Regions from separate parts of the Homo sapiens genome. Here regions 1, 2 and 4 are each linked to region 3. The links are contacts of gene promoters, found by promoter capture Hi-C in human tissues and cell types (Jung and others, 2019). All regions are on one chromosome and are shown on one strand. Each heading gives the region's core, a stretch centred on a gene start or on the middle of the fragment in contact. The rest is flanking DNA. Distances are from core to core; before and after follow the strand shown.

Evidence for each region. Contacts are between HindIII fragments. The study calls those that stand out against the background at their distance.
Region 1: a contact is called between the fragment with the promoter of PASK here and the fragment with the promoter of KIF1A in region 3, in 1 of the 25 tissues and cell types used here (dorsolateral prefrontal cortex).
Region 2: a contact is called between a fragment that was not itself captured here and the fragment with the promoter of KIF1A in region 3, in 1 of the 25 tissues and cell types used here (aorta).
Region 4: a fragment that was not itself captured here is called in contact with the fragment with the promoter of KIF1A in region 3 in 1 of the 25 tissues and cell types used here (hippocampus).

The regions. Positions count from the first base shown.
Region 1 is chr2:241,148,185-241,150,884 of GRCh38, forward strand. PASK (PAS domain containing serine/threonine kinase) reads right to left here and starts at 1,288. Exons shown (of 18, transcript NM_015148.4): 1 at 1,230-1,288. PPP1R7 (protein phosphatase 1 regulatory subunit 7) reads left to right here and starts at 2,283. Exons shown (of 10, transcript NM_002712.3): 1 at 2,283-2,363. The coding sequence starts at 2,312. RefSeq lists enhancers at 242-401, 1,915-2,074 and silencers at 655-704, 755-814, 875-1,234, 2,365-2,700. The HindIII fragment of the contact is 22,172 bases long and covers 1-2,700 here.
Region 2 is chr2:241,203,510-241,206,209 of GRCh38, forward strand. ANO7 (anoctamin 7) reads left to right here. Exons shown (of 25, transcript NM_001370694.2): 10 at 1,356-1,446. Among named protein-coding and RNA genes, the nearest start is that of ANO7, 16 kb to the left of the region's middle. The HindIII fragment of the contact is 6,060 bases long and covers 1-2,700 here.
Region 3 is chr2:240,818,953-240,821,652 of GRCh38, forward strand. KIF1A (kinesin family member 1A) reads right to left here and starts at 1,267. Exons shown (of 49, transcript NM_001244008.2): 1 at 1,170-1,267. RefSeq lists an enhancer at 1,679-2,253. The HindIII fragment of the contact is 12,815 bases long and covers 1-2,700 here.
Region 4 is chr2:241,323,657-241,326,356 of GRCh38, forward strand. It overlaps SEPTIN2 (septin 2), which reads left to right. Exons shown (of 13, transcript NM_004404.5): 2 at 560-585; 3 at 2,337-2,457. The coding sequence starts at 577. Among named protein-coding and RNA genes, the nearest start is that of SEPTIN2, 9.1 kb to the left of the region's middle. The HindIII fragment of the contact is 3,359 bases long and covers 1-2,700 here.

The DNA of each region.
Region 1 (2,700 bases), core at 38-2,537, 330 kb after region 3:
AGTAACCATATTCCCATTGCTAGTTTTGATTCCAGAAGACACAAGTGACCCCACCTCAGACCAAACAGAAGCAAGGACAACTTTGCAGGGAGCATCTCGGCGAACTTCTAGAAGCAACTGTCCCCCTCCCACCAGAACATAAGCTAAGAAGCAAACAGCTCCCATTGCTGTCAGCACAGCTGTACAACAAAAAGGAGAACCAGTTTCAGGATGAGGCCAACAAGGTGAACAGTGCAGTAGAACACAGCAAGGATGTCAGTCCTGGAGGAGGCACCTGCAGAGCCGGGCCCTACCAAGCAGAGTGAAGAAGTCTTTCAGAGGCAAAGCCTCCCAGAGAGGAGTTCAGTACCCAGAAGAGTAGGTGGACGTGGGCCTGGAAGGGCCAAGCATGAGCCCAGAGCCTCCTATGCCTGCCCAAAGTCTTAATTTTATCCCCAAAATGAACTTTTAAGGATTCAATGCTTAGGAGTAACATGGCCAGATATGCATTTTACAAAGATTACTCCAGGGACCATGTCGGTGCAAGGCTGGAAAGCAGGAGAAAGGCTACAGTAATCCAGGCAAGAAATTATAAAGTCTTAAATTAAGGTAGCAGCAGAAAGATGAAGAGAGGGAACCCCTAAGAGAAAAATGGACATCGAATGGTACTGAGATGCGGAAGGTAAGGACGAGAAAGGCCTCAAGACGGCAGCGCAGGCCCCTGCCGTACTCTGGGAAAGAAAAATTAGTGAAAAAATTAAGGCTCAAGTCCAGGTCTTTGCTGTAACCACGAGCGCCGGCGGCGCGCGCCCCCGACCCCGCGGCGCCGGCTGAGCCCGCAGGGACCCACACGCCCAGTGCAGGAGGCTGGCGGGATCCGGGCTGGTTCTCCTGGAGCTCGCCCCGCAGGGCCGGCTGCGGTGAAGAGAGCGCAGGGTCCCGAGGCGACCCGAGGCGCGGGGCCTCGGCGCCCACCGGGCAGGCTACACTGAAGGGCACCCCGAAGACGCTGGGGGCGCGGGGCCCAGGGCCAACGGCCGCAACCCCGCCGCGATTTGGGCACGGAGAGGACGCGGGCTCGGCGGTGCGCGAAGGGCGACGGGCGCAGGGGCGGGAGACCCGGGGTCGGGCTGGTCTAAGAGTCGGGCGGCGGATCCTCCTGGGCCAGGGGCGCGGAGCCGCGCAGGCCCCACAGCCGCCCTGGGGAGATGGCGGAGCCCGGCCCGCTCTCCCGAGCGCAGGTATCTCACCTGGATCAGGCGAGGGTCACGCCAAGCCGGCTACACACCACGGAAAGGAGCCCTTCCGCGCTTTTATCCCACCGACCAATCGCACAGCGACTAGCACCGATTGACAAGCTCCACGGACCAGCCACTTGCGCGTATGGGCGGGACTAAGCTAGCCAGAGTCTAGAAGCCCGCGCTAAGGGTTGCTAGGGACGCACCAAACACCCCTACGGCGCTTCGGAGGAGCCAAAGGAATAATGGGCGCCTCCGCCCCCGGGCCGGGCAGATGCGGTTTCCTCCCGACTCGCGATCAAAATGGGTGAGTAGCGCAGAGCTCGCCTCTTGGAGGCCTCTTTCTGAAGGCGGAGGACGCGGGGCGGCTCGTTCATGGGCCGGGTGGCTCCGCAGGGTAGACGAAGGCTGCAGCGTCCGCACTGGGCTGGGAACGACTTGCAAGGGGAGCCCAGCTGGCGCCCCGGAGCCAGCCAGCTGGCTAGCGGCCCCACCAGCGCAAGTGCCCCGCACCTGCCCGCCTGCTCCGAGCGTCAAGAGAAGGCGGCATTTCGCATGGGTAAAATCCGCGCGGGGACGCCGGGAGAATGTTGTTGCTCTTGCCGTTCGGCCCATTGTACAGACGCAGCCAGCGAGGCTCGCAGAGGTCAGGGATGCACGTAGGACTGGCCCGCACCTTGCAGCCACGGAAAGATCCGCCTGGCCCGCGGCCCCTCCACGCCTCCGAGGTCGAGACAGTGACATAAGTCAACTCTCAAGCCCAGGGCGTCTCTCCACTCTGCCTAGACGTCCACTCCGTCTGCCTGCAGCTACGGCTCTGTGCGTCCCGCTTCGACTCCCTCTGCTTTCCTTCCCAGCTTCTCGCCTCCAGACTGTTCCGGCTCCGCCGCCTGAAATTACCTGCTCTGGGGGAGGCGCGGCGCGCGGCCTCATGACGGAACTACAACTCCCATGAGGCGCTGGGCCCACGCAGGCGCGGCGCGGCTGAAGTCGCCGCGCCGGAATCCCATTGGCAGGGCCGGCTCTGAGGCGGGAGCCCTGATTGGCTGAGGGGTCTGAGGCGACAGATTCCGGAAAGGGGAAGAGCAGCCAACATGGCGGCGGAACGCGGCGCGGGGCAGCAACAGTCGCAGGAGATGATGGAGGGTGAGCGGCCCCTGCGGGCGGCGGCCCAAGGGCCCAGCGGGCGGGGGGAGCTGCGGGCTGGAACTGCTCCGTGCCTGAGAGAAACTCCACGTCCTGCCTCTGGCCGCCGCCGCGCGGCCCCCTGACAGCTGACAGCCGGACCCGGGGGAGCGGGGGAGGCGCTGGACCTCGGGGGAGCCCCGGCCCGGGGGCGGCAGCGGCCGGGAAGGACCCAGAGCTAGGGGGAGAGCGGCGGCGCGAGGCCAGGCCGGGGGTGGGGCTGAATGGGACGCGGTGGCTCCATTCAGTCCAGTTGGAGCCTCGCCCCGAGCCTCTGAGATTGACGGGCGGGGGAGCC
Region 2 (2,700 bases), core at 8-2,507, 380 kb after region 3:
CCGCTGCCCCCCAGACCACCTGGGCCCCCCCAGCTTGGTGTCAGGTTGTAACAATTTGCCAGTCCGTACCCCTGGAGGGCAGCGTGCGTGGGGGCCTGGACGGTGGGCGCAGCTCTTGGCTCGACCGGGCTGCCCTCCTGGCTCCCCTCAAGCCCACTCACTCTAACTGGGCGCCATGACGATGCCGGGCCCTGGCCTCCTAATGCTCCAGTAACAGTGCTGAGAGCCGCTTCTGCTGGTGGGGGTCTCTCCTGACTCCCTCCCCGAATGTCACTGGCCCATGAGGCCCTGGGGCAACCCCAGGAACTTCCATCCTAGGGAGGTCGCCCCTGCCTGGGTCCAGGCCAAGCCTCTCATCTCCTCCAAGCAGGCCATCTGCCCCAGGCAACCCCAGAGCTGTTCCTCCTGGGTCCTGGCTGCCCTCACCCCACTCAGCTCTTGGCACCCTCCCTTCCCCATCCTGGGTCAGACCCAACCCCTTCATTCTGTGCCCCAGAACTTCCAAAGCCCTTTCTCATCCGCACACACAGCCCCACCGTGGACCCAGACAATAGAGCCAGCCAGGGCAGCGGGCGGGGCCGGCAGGCATGGAAGGGCAGCCGGGGCACAGCATCGGGGCAGAGGGACAGCTCCTGTGTGCCAGGACTCACCCGGCCATCTCAGGACCTGGAGCAGCAACCCTGGGACAGCACGGCCAGGCTGGGGGCTTCTGGGGGCAAGCAGGGCCAGGGCTGGATCTGGGCTCCAGGCAGACTTGCGTTTCACAGCAGTCACTTTGGCCAGCAGAGAGTCAGGCAGGAGACAGGACACCAGGCCTGGGACTGGACTAGCCCTATGGGAGGCAGTGGGGGTACATGCTGAGGGCCTGGGGTAACTGAGGGATTGCGGCTGTGGTCAGATGAGGCAGGGGCCAGGGTGGGGGTTGGGTGGTGGGGAGGGAGGTACCCGGAATGACTCGTGGTTTCCCTGGGGCTGGAACACGGGTGGGCCCACAGCTCTGTGGTGGGCAGGATGTAGAGGGACTTCTCTGTCCGTCCCGGGCAGGTTGGTTGGAGTGAGCTGGCTGAGGAGAAGGCATCCAGAGGTGGAGAGCCTGGTGGGCTGGAGCCCCAGCAGCACTGGTGTTGGGGTCAATGTGGTAGGGGTGTCCAGAGTCTAGGGCAGAGGCCCAGGAGGGTGGGCCGTGCCAGAGCTGCCAGGGAGAGCTGTGTACCTCTTGGCCTCCTCACATAGGGCCCCAGCCCCCAAGCTGGGCTGAGGGTGGTCCCTAGGGGACAAGCATGGCTGTGCAGACCCCTACCTGGGGCCCCCAAGCCTGGGTTCCTGATGGTGGACCCCTGCCATCCTCTCTACAGGGTTTTACACAGGCTGGCTCCTGCCAGCGGCAGTGGTGGGCACACTGGTGTTCCTGGTGGGCTGCTTCCTGGTGTTCTCAGACATACCCACGTGAGTGTTCCCTCTCCGCAGCTCTGGGGCCTGGTGCTGGGCCTCCAGATGGGTGTGGGGCGGGGGGACCCCTAGGTGCTAGGTCCTGTGCAGACAGCTGGTGCTTGAGGTGATTGAGGTGTGAGGTGAGCACATGCCTGTCTTCAGGAGTGTCACAGAGGGCCTTGTGGACATGGCTGAAAGGCTGGCAGGTGGACAGGAGTGCTCCCAGGCTGACAGGTGGACAGGAGTGCTCCCAGGCTGACAGGTGGACAGGAGTGCTCCCAAACTGACAGGTGGTCAGGAGCACTCCCAGACTGACAGGCAGACGGGGCGCTCCCAGGCTGACAGGTAGTCAGGAGTGCTCCCAGGCTGGCACCGGTGGATAGGAGTGCTCCCAGGCTGACAGGTGGTCAGGAGTGCTCCCAGGCTGATAGGTGGACAGGAGTGCTCCCAGGCTGACAGGTAGCTAGGACTGCTCTCAGGCTGAAACAGGTAGACAGGTGTGCTCTCAGGCTGACACAGGTGGATAAGAGTGCTCCAAGGCTGACACAGGTGGACAGGAGTGCTCCCAGTCTGACAGGTGGACAGGAGTGCTCCAAGGCTGACACAGGTGGACAGGAGTGCTCCCAGTCTGACAGGTGGACAGGAGTGCTCCCAGGCTGACACAGGTGGACAGGAGTGCTCCCAGCCTGACACAGGTGGGCAGGAGTGCTCCCAGCCTGACACAGGTGGACAGGAGTGCTCCAAGGCTGACACAGGTGGACAGGAGTGTTCCCAGTCTGACAAGTGGACAGGAGTGCTCCCAGGCTGACAGGTGGACAGGAGTGCTCCCAGTCTGACAGGTGGACAGGAGTGCTCCCAGTCTGACAGGTGGACAGGAGTGCTCCCAGGCTGACAGGTGGGCAGGAGTGCTCCCAGCCTGACACAGGTGGGCAGGAGTGCTACCAGGCTGACACAGGTGGACAGGAGTGCTCCCAGGCTGACATAGGTGGACAGGAGTGCTCCCAGCCTGACAGGTGGACAGGAGTGCTCCCAGGCTGACACAGGTGGACAGGAGTGCTCCCAGCCTGACACAGGTGGGCAGGAGTGCTCCCAGCCTGACACAGGTGGACAGGAGTGCTCCAAGGCTGACAGGTGGACAGGAGTGCTCCCAGGTTGACACAAGTGGACAGGAGTGCTCCCAGTCTGACAGGTGGACAGGAGTGCTCCCAGGCTGACAGCTGGGCAGGAATGCTCCCAGCCTGACACAGGTGGGCAGGAGTGCTCCCAGGC
Region 3 (2,700 bases), core at 17-2,516:
GGGAAAGTCCCTATTCCCGGGGACGTGGGCGCGCATCGGGTCCGCGCCGGGCGACGTCGCGCTCGCGCCCAGCAGGCCCCATGACTTGGCATTCCCTCCTTCCCCTCCCCCTCCCGCCCCTGCGGCCGGCAGGGCCCCCCCAACCCCACCTACCGGCGCCCAGCGCCCCGCTCCTGCGGACCCTCCCTCCCGGCGGGGATGCTGCCCCGGCCCTTCCCAGCGAGAGGGCAGCGCGGCTGGTTTGGGGGAAGTCAGCGTGAGGAGCGGCTTAAAGCGGGAGTGCGAAGGTCTTCGCGGCCACTGTTCCTTCGTGTCATCCGAGCCCGGGCGCCGGGGGCGCGCCGCCAGCCTAGACCCTGCGGCCCCGCAGCCCCTCCCTCGCCGCCGGGCCACACCTGTTACAGGGGCGCTGGCTGCTGAGACGCAGGCAGTGCTCGCCGGCGGCCCCTCCCAGGTGCTGGGTCTTTCTGGAAGGGAGCTGGGGTCTCTGGCGTGGGAGGGGGTGATGGGCAGGCCGGCCGTGCAACGAAGCGGGTGGCCAGGCCCCAACGCCGCAGCCCCCGCCCCGCCCGCCTGTTTTGCTCCCGGCTCCAGCATCCGCCCTCCCCCACCCCGGGAACCGGAGCAGCTGCCCGCGCCCGGCCGCCCTGCGCGCTCTCCCCTCGGGCCGAGGCGCTGCAGCCGCGCACCCTCCCAGGTGCGGCGTCAGCGTCCTCAGCCCCGCTCACCATCCCTCCCCTCCCCCGCCGTCTGGGCGCAGCCCCTCCCGCAGCCCCGCCGGTGGCTCCTCTCCAGGGAAGCGGAATAGCCGGGGAAGGGCGGGGGTATCCCGATCCCGCCGGCCGGGCGAGCCCTCCCGAGGGCGACCCCCGCCCGCCTAAGCCGAGGGTCCCGCTGCAGCCGAGATCGCGGCAAAGGGACCTTTTCCAGCGGCACCTGAAGGGCGGACACCCCTGAATTTCCCCCATTGTTCTCTGCGGAGATGGAGGAAGGTCTGGAAGTGAAGGGGCCTCGCAGTGCCTGCGCTTTGGGCGGCAACAAGGGCGCCGGGCCGGAGCTCCCCGCCCTGGGCGCAGTGGGTGCAGGTGCGGGCTGCGGGCGCGGGCTGCCGGGCGCAGGTGCGGGGCGAGGGGCGCGGGCGCGGGAGGCCGGGCGGGCGGCGGCCTTACCTCTCCGGCGTCACTGGCGGCGGCCCCGCATGGGCACTGGCATGGGCGCGGGCTCTCGAGCCCGGAGCTGCTGCCGCTCGCCGGCTGCTCTGCGCTGTGACGGCGCCGCCGCGTGACGGGCTGCGCGCCCCCGGCCCGGACCGCCCCGCGCCCCTCCCGAGGCGCTGGTTGGCTGCGCGCGGCGTCCGAGCTCCAGTCGCCAGCTGGTTTGTCGCGCGGGGAGAGGGACGGGCGACGCGGCCGCCGCGGGGATGGGGCTGGGGACGGAGGGGGCCGGGGCCGGGCTGTGACGTCACCGCTGACACCGCGGCGGGCCCCGCGGAGGGTGGGGGACCGACACCCGGCTCGGACGCAGCGTCCCCTCCCCCGGCGTGCCCCTGAGACCTCGCGGGGGAGGGACCCGGCGGCGCCCCGTCCCGAAGCCCCGCGTGCACCTGAACTTGCCCGCGGACCCCTCGCCGGGCCGTCCCCCACCCTGGCCCCTTTCGAGTGAAATCGTAAAACGTCCACCTGCCCCCGCTCTGAGCCAGCGACAGACGCATCGTGGGGGGCGGGCGGGGCTGGGGAGGGAGGGCTCCTTGCGCCAGGGATGCTGGCTCCGGGTGTAACAGGTGCGCGGTGAAATCGCATCTTGTGTCGGGGCCGGGGCGCCGGGGGAAGAGCAGCAGTGACCCAGGCCCTCCCCGCCGGATGATGCAACCCGCCCGCGGACCCGCCGCCTCGCCTCTACCGCGGCTCGTGGGGACCCCCCGCCCTCCTCTCGCCCCACCTCTCCAGGCCCCCATTGTCCTCACCCCAGCCTGTCCAGTTTAACTTCCTTGGACCCCCAAGTCACACGCCGCTCGGGGGCCACCCCGGCAAACCCCAGCCTGCGTCACCCGCCCCCAGCCGCCTTCCTAGTTCCAGGGGCTGACTGGTATCTCTGTGCGCGCCACCGTCCTCCCTCCACCGTCCCAGGGCTGGGCAACTTCGACAAAGCCTCTGGGCAGCTCGCCCATGGGAACCTCCCCGCACTGCGGTGCGGGGGTGCACGGATTTCGGGCCACCCTGAACCCCGGGGCTGGGTCCCCTCCAGCCCAGCCCCTGCCATCGAGCCCCTGCCATGGGCATCCTGGCGTCGCCTGGCTAAGCCTCCCTGGCGCCCAGCAGGGGCCTGCGCTGCCCTAGCGGCCTCGCCGTTAACCATTTCATCCACACTCCTGGGAGAGCCGGCTTCACCTCAGTCCCGACAGCTGCGTGCGAGCGCCTTGCAGGTGGCTGGGGGAGATTCACATCCACTTCTGCAAGACACGGGCCCCCCACTCCCAGCCCCAGCCCCGCCGAAACCAGCTAGACAGCTCCTCCTCCTTCACTATTTCCTGGAACCGCCGGCATGAAAGAGAAATCAATTGTTCTTCCTAACCCTGGCAGAAACAATAAAACCATCTGGGCTTCTGGGGCTGGGGTCTTTATCACCTCCGTTTTCCTCATGCTTTTTAATCTGGCAAGTTCTCTATTTCTCGAGGCAATAGACATTTTTCTAGGAATTAAT
Region 4 (2,700 bases), core at 24-2,523, 500 kb after region 3:
AAGGCTCCTGATTCAGTTAAAAGAATTCATTTAAGTACAGAGTGTAAGCGAGCTACACCAAAGAATGGTGATTAGCGCTCCCAGGGTGGGGAAAAATGAGGATTGTTTATATAGGCAAAATGGAGGTGCCAAACAGAATTATAACATTTTCGGAACTAAGGCTCATTTAAAGATACAAATTTGATTGGCTACTATTGATTACACTTGAAGGGATTTGTTTAACTTCCTTTTGTAAAGAAGTAACAGTCATAAGGATCTCTCATCTCCCAGTCATTTAGTCTAGTTTTGAATAAAGAATAGGGGGTCTGGTTAATATATACATCTAAACACAAAAGTCAGAAAGAATAAAAGTAGTGATGTTACACGAGCCAGCTGTCAGTGCTTAACTTTTCCCTTTGGCCTAATGCATTTGGAAGGTCCTGAAATTGTATTTTCTTTTTACATTGCCTATGTATGTGTAAGTCTTCTTCAGGTCAGTTCACGCTGTTAAATATACGTGCGTATACATACATACTATGTATGTGCGTTTATGTGTGTCTGTGTGTTTTTTTTTTAACAGACGAAGCTTCACAAAAGATGTCTAAGGTAAGATCATACTTCATGTATCTACAGCATAAGGAGAAATTGCTTTATGTTTTCAGACTGTTGACAGTCGGGACTTATATGATTCATTATTTTTAATACAACTGATACATTTGATTCATTAACACAAAGAGTTCTAATTTAGTTGTCTTTTTTTTTTTTTTTTTGAGACGGGAGTCTTGTTCTGTCACCAGGCTGGAGTGCAGTGGCATGATCTCAGCTCACTGCAACTTCTGCCTCCCACGTTCAAGCGATTCCCCTGGCTCAGCCTCCGGAGTAGCTGGGACTGCAGACACGTGCCACCACGCTGGCTAATTTTTTGGATTTTAGTAAATTCGGGGTTTCACCGTGTTGGCCAGGATGGCCTTGATCTGTTGACCTCGTGATCCACCCGCTTTGGCCCCCCGAAGTGTTGGGATTACAGGTGTGAGCCACCGTGCCTGGCCTAATTGTCATCTTAAAAGCTTGGAGCTTTCTCTTTTTTCAGGCTTCTACTTTCTTTTCTCTACACACATCAGTAACAGTCCTTTTGGCCCCCTTAGTTCATTCCCAGCAGACCAGATAATTTAGAATTCTGATAATTTATTATGATGAAATTGATGGGGCTCTTAGACTTGATAAATTGGTTTAAATCAGCCTTTGCAAGTTAGTTCAGAGATAAATTAGTGCTAAAGAACATATTCTGAGAAAAGCAGAACTTGTGGTTAACATTGCAAGATTATTATTTCTGTTTTTTTTTTATCTTTGAATCCTGTGGGTGTTCATTACTGTCCAATGCAAAATCATCATACCAGTTTTTGCATTTTATACCAGTGTTAGCATGGAACACAGATAAGCAAAAAAAAAAGTCATTATTTCACCACTCAGGAATAACCACTGTTAATATGTTACATATATTCTTTTTCACCTGTGTGTGCATTTGACTATACATTTACAAAATGTAATCCTAAAGGAAATACTATTTTGTATCTTGCCTTTTTCAATTAATAAATTGATTTTTAAAATTTCTTCTCATTTTCAGTATGCCACTGTCTAGATTCTGGTTACTTCTGCTATTCTTGCCTTCTCATATCTCTGTCCTCTCTCTCATCAGATACCCTTCTGTCAAGGAATATTGATGCTTCAGTGTAGTCATCTATGATCTTCTCATTCTGTCTTTTCTTTCTTGGTCTTTGACACTAGATACTCAACATCCCACCCCTAATTTGCCTGCCTCACCCTTGATGAAACTCTGTTCTATAGAGCTAGAAGCACAGCAAGAGAGATGCTTTTTTCCTCGATACTTTTCAGAAATGCATTGCACCTAATACCTGGGAGAAGCTATTCTTTAGCCAAGTTTGTTGAATGAAACCATTCATTCAAAGTACTGTCAGCTGTAGCAGTACTTTGTAAGCTTGACTGATTTTCCTGGAACTCCATAGTCTCTCAAGTCGAAATTTGAAATTGCATTAAGATGTATTAAGCATGTATCTTCTATGTATTGTTAAATTCCTAAACAGAATACTGATTAACAAAATGTTAATTTTCAGTCGCATACAACTAAGGAGTTATACTAGATAAGTTTTTCTTTTTTTAATGCTCCTAGTTGAATACTACTGGTTTTCTGATAGAAGTATGACCTTCTGGAAGTGTTTATACTTTTTAAAAAATTTGTGAAAACTGATAACCTATGTTTGTTTCATGTCTAACTGATTATATCTTAAAAGCAACTACTAAGGTGTTTATTAGTTTGTTTGTTTTTTAATCTTATTTAGCAACAGCCAACTCAGTTTATAAATCCAGAAACACCTGGCTATGTTGGATTTGCAAACCTCCCCAATCAAGTTCACCGAAAATCAGTGAAAAAAGGTTTTGAGTTCACACTGATGGTGGTCGGTAAGAAATTAATCTATAGTCTCCAACTTACTAAATAAATATCTCCCCTTTCCAATCTCTGGAGTATGATAACGTGACCTATAAAGAAAGAGGAAAATTTGGCAGAGTCAAATAACTTGAGAATTTGAACAAATATATGTGTATTCATTAGAAAATTTTTCTCAGGAGCAAAATTATTTTTCTGTCACTTTCTTATTTATATGTAGTGAAAGTTTACTCATTGTGTCAGCTAGGCTCCAAAAT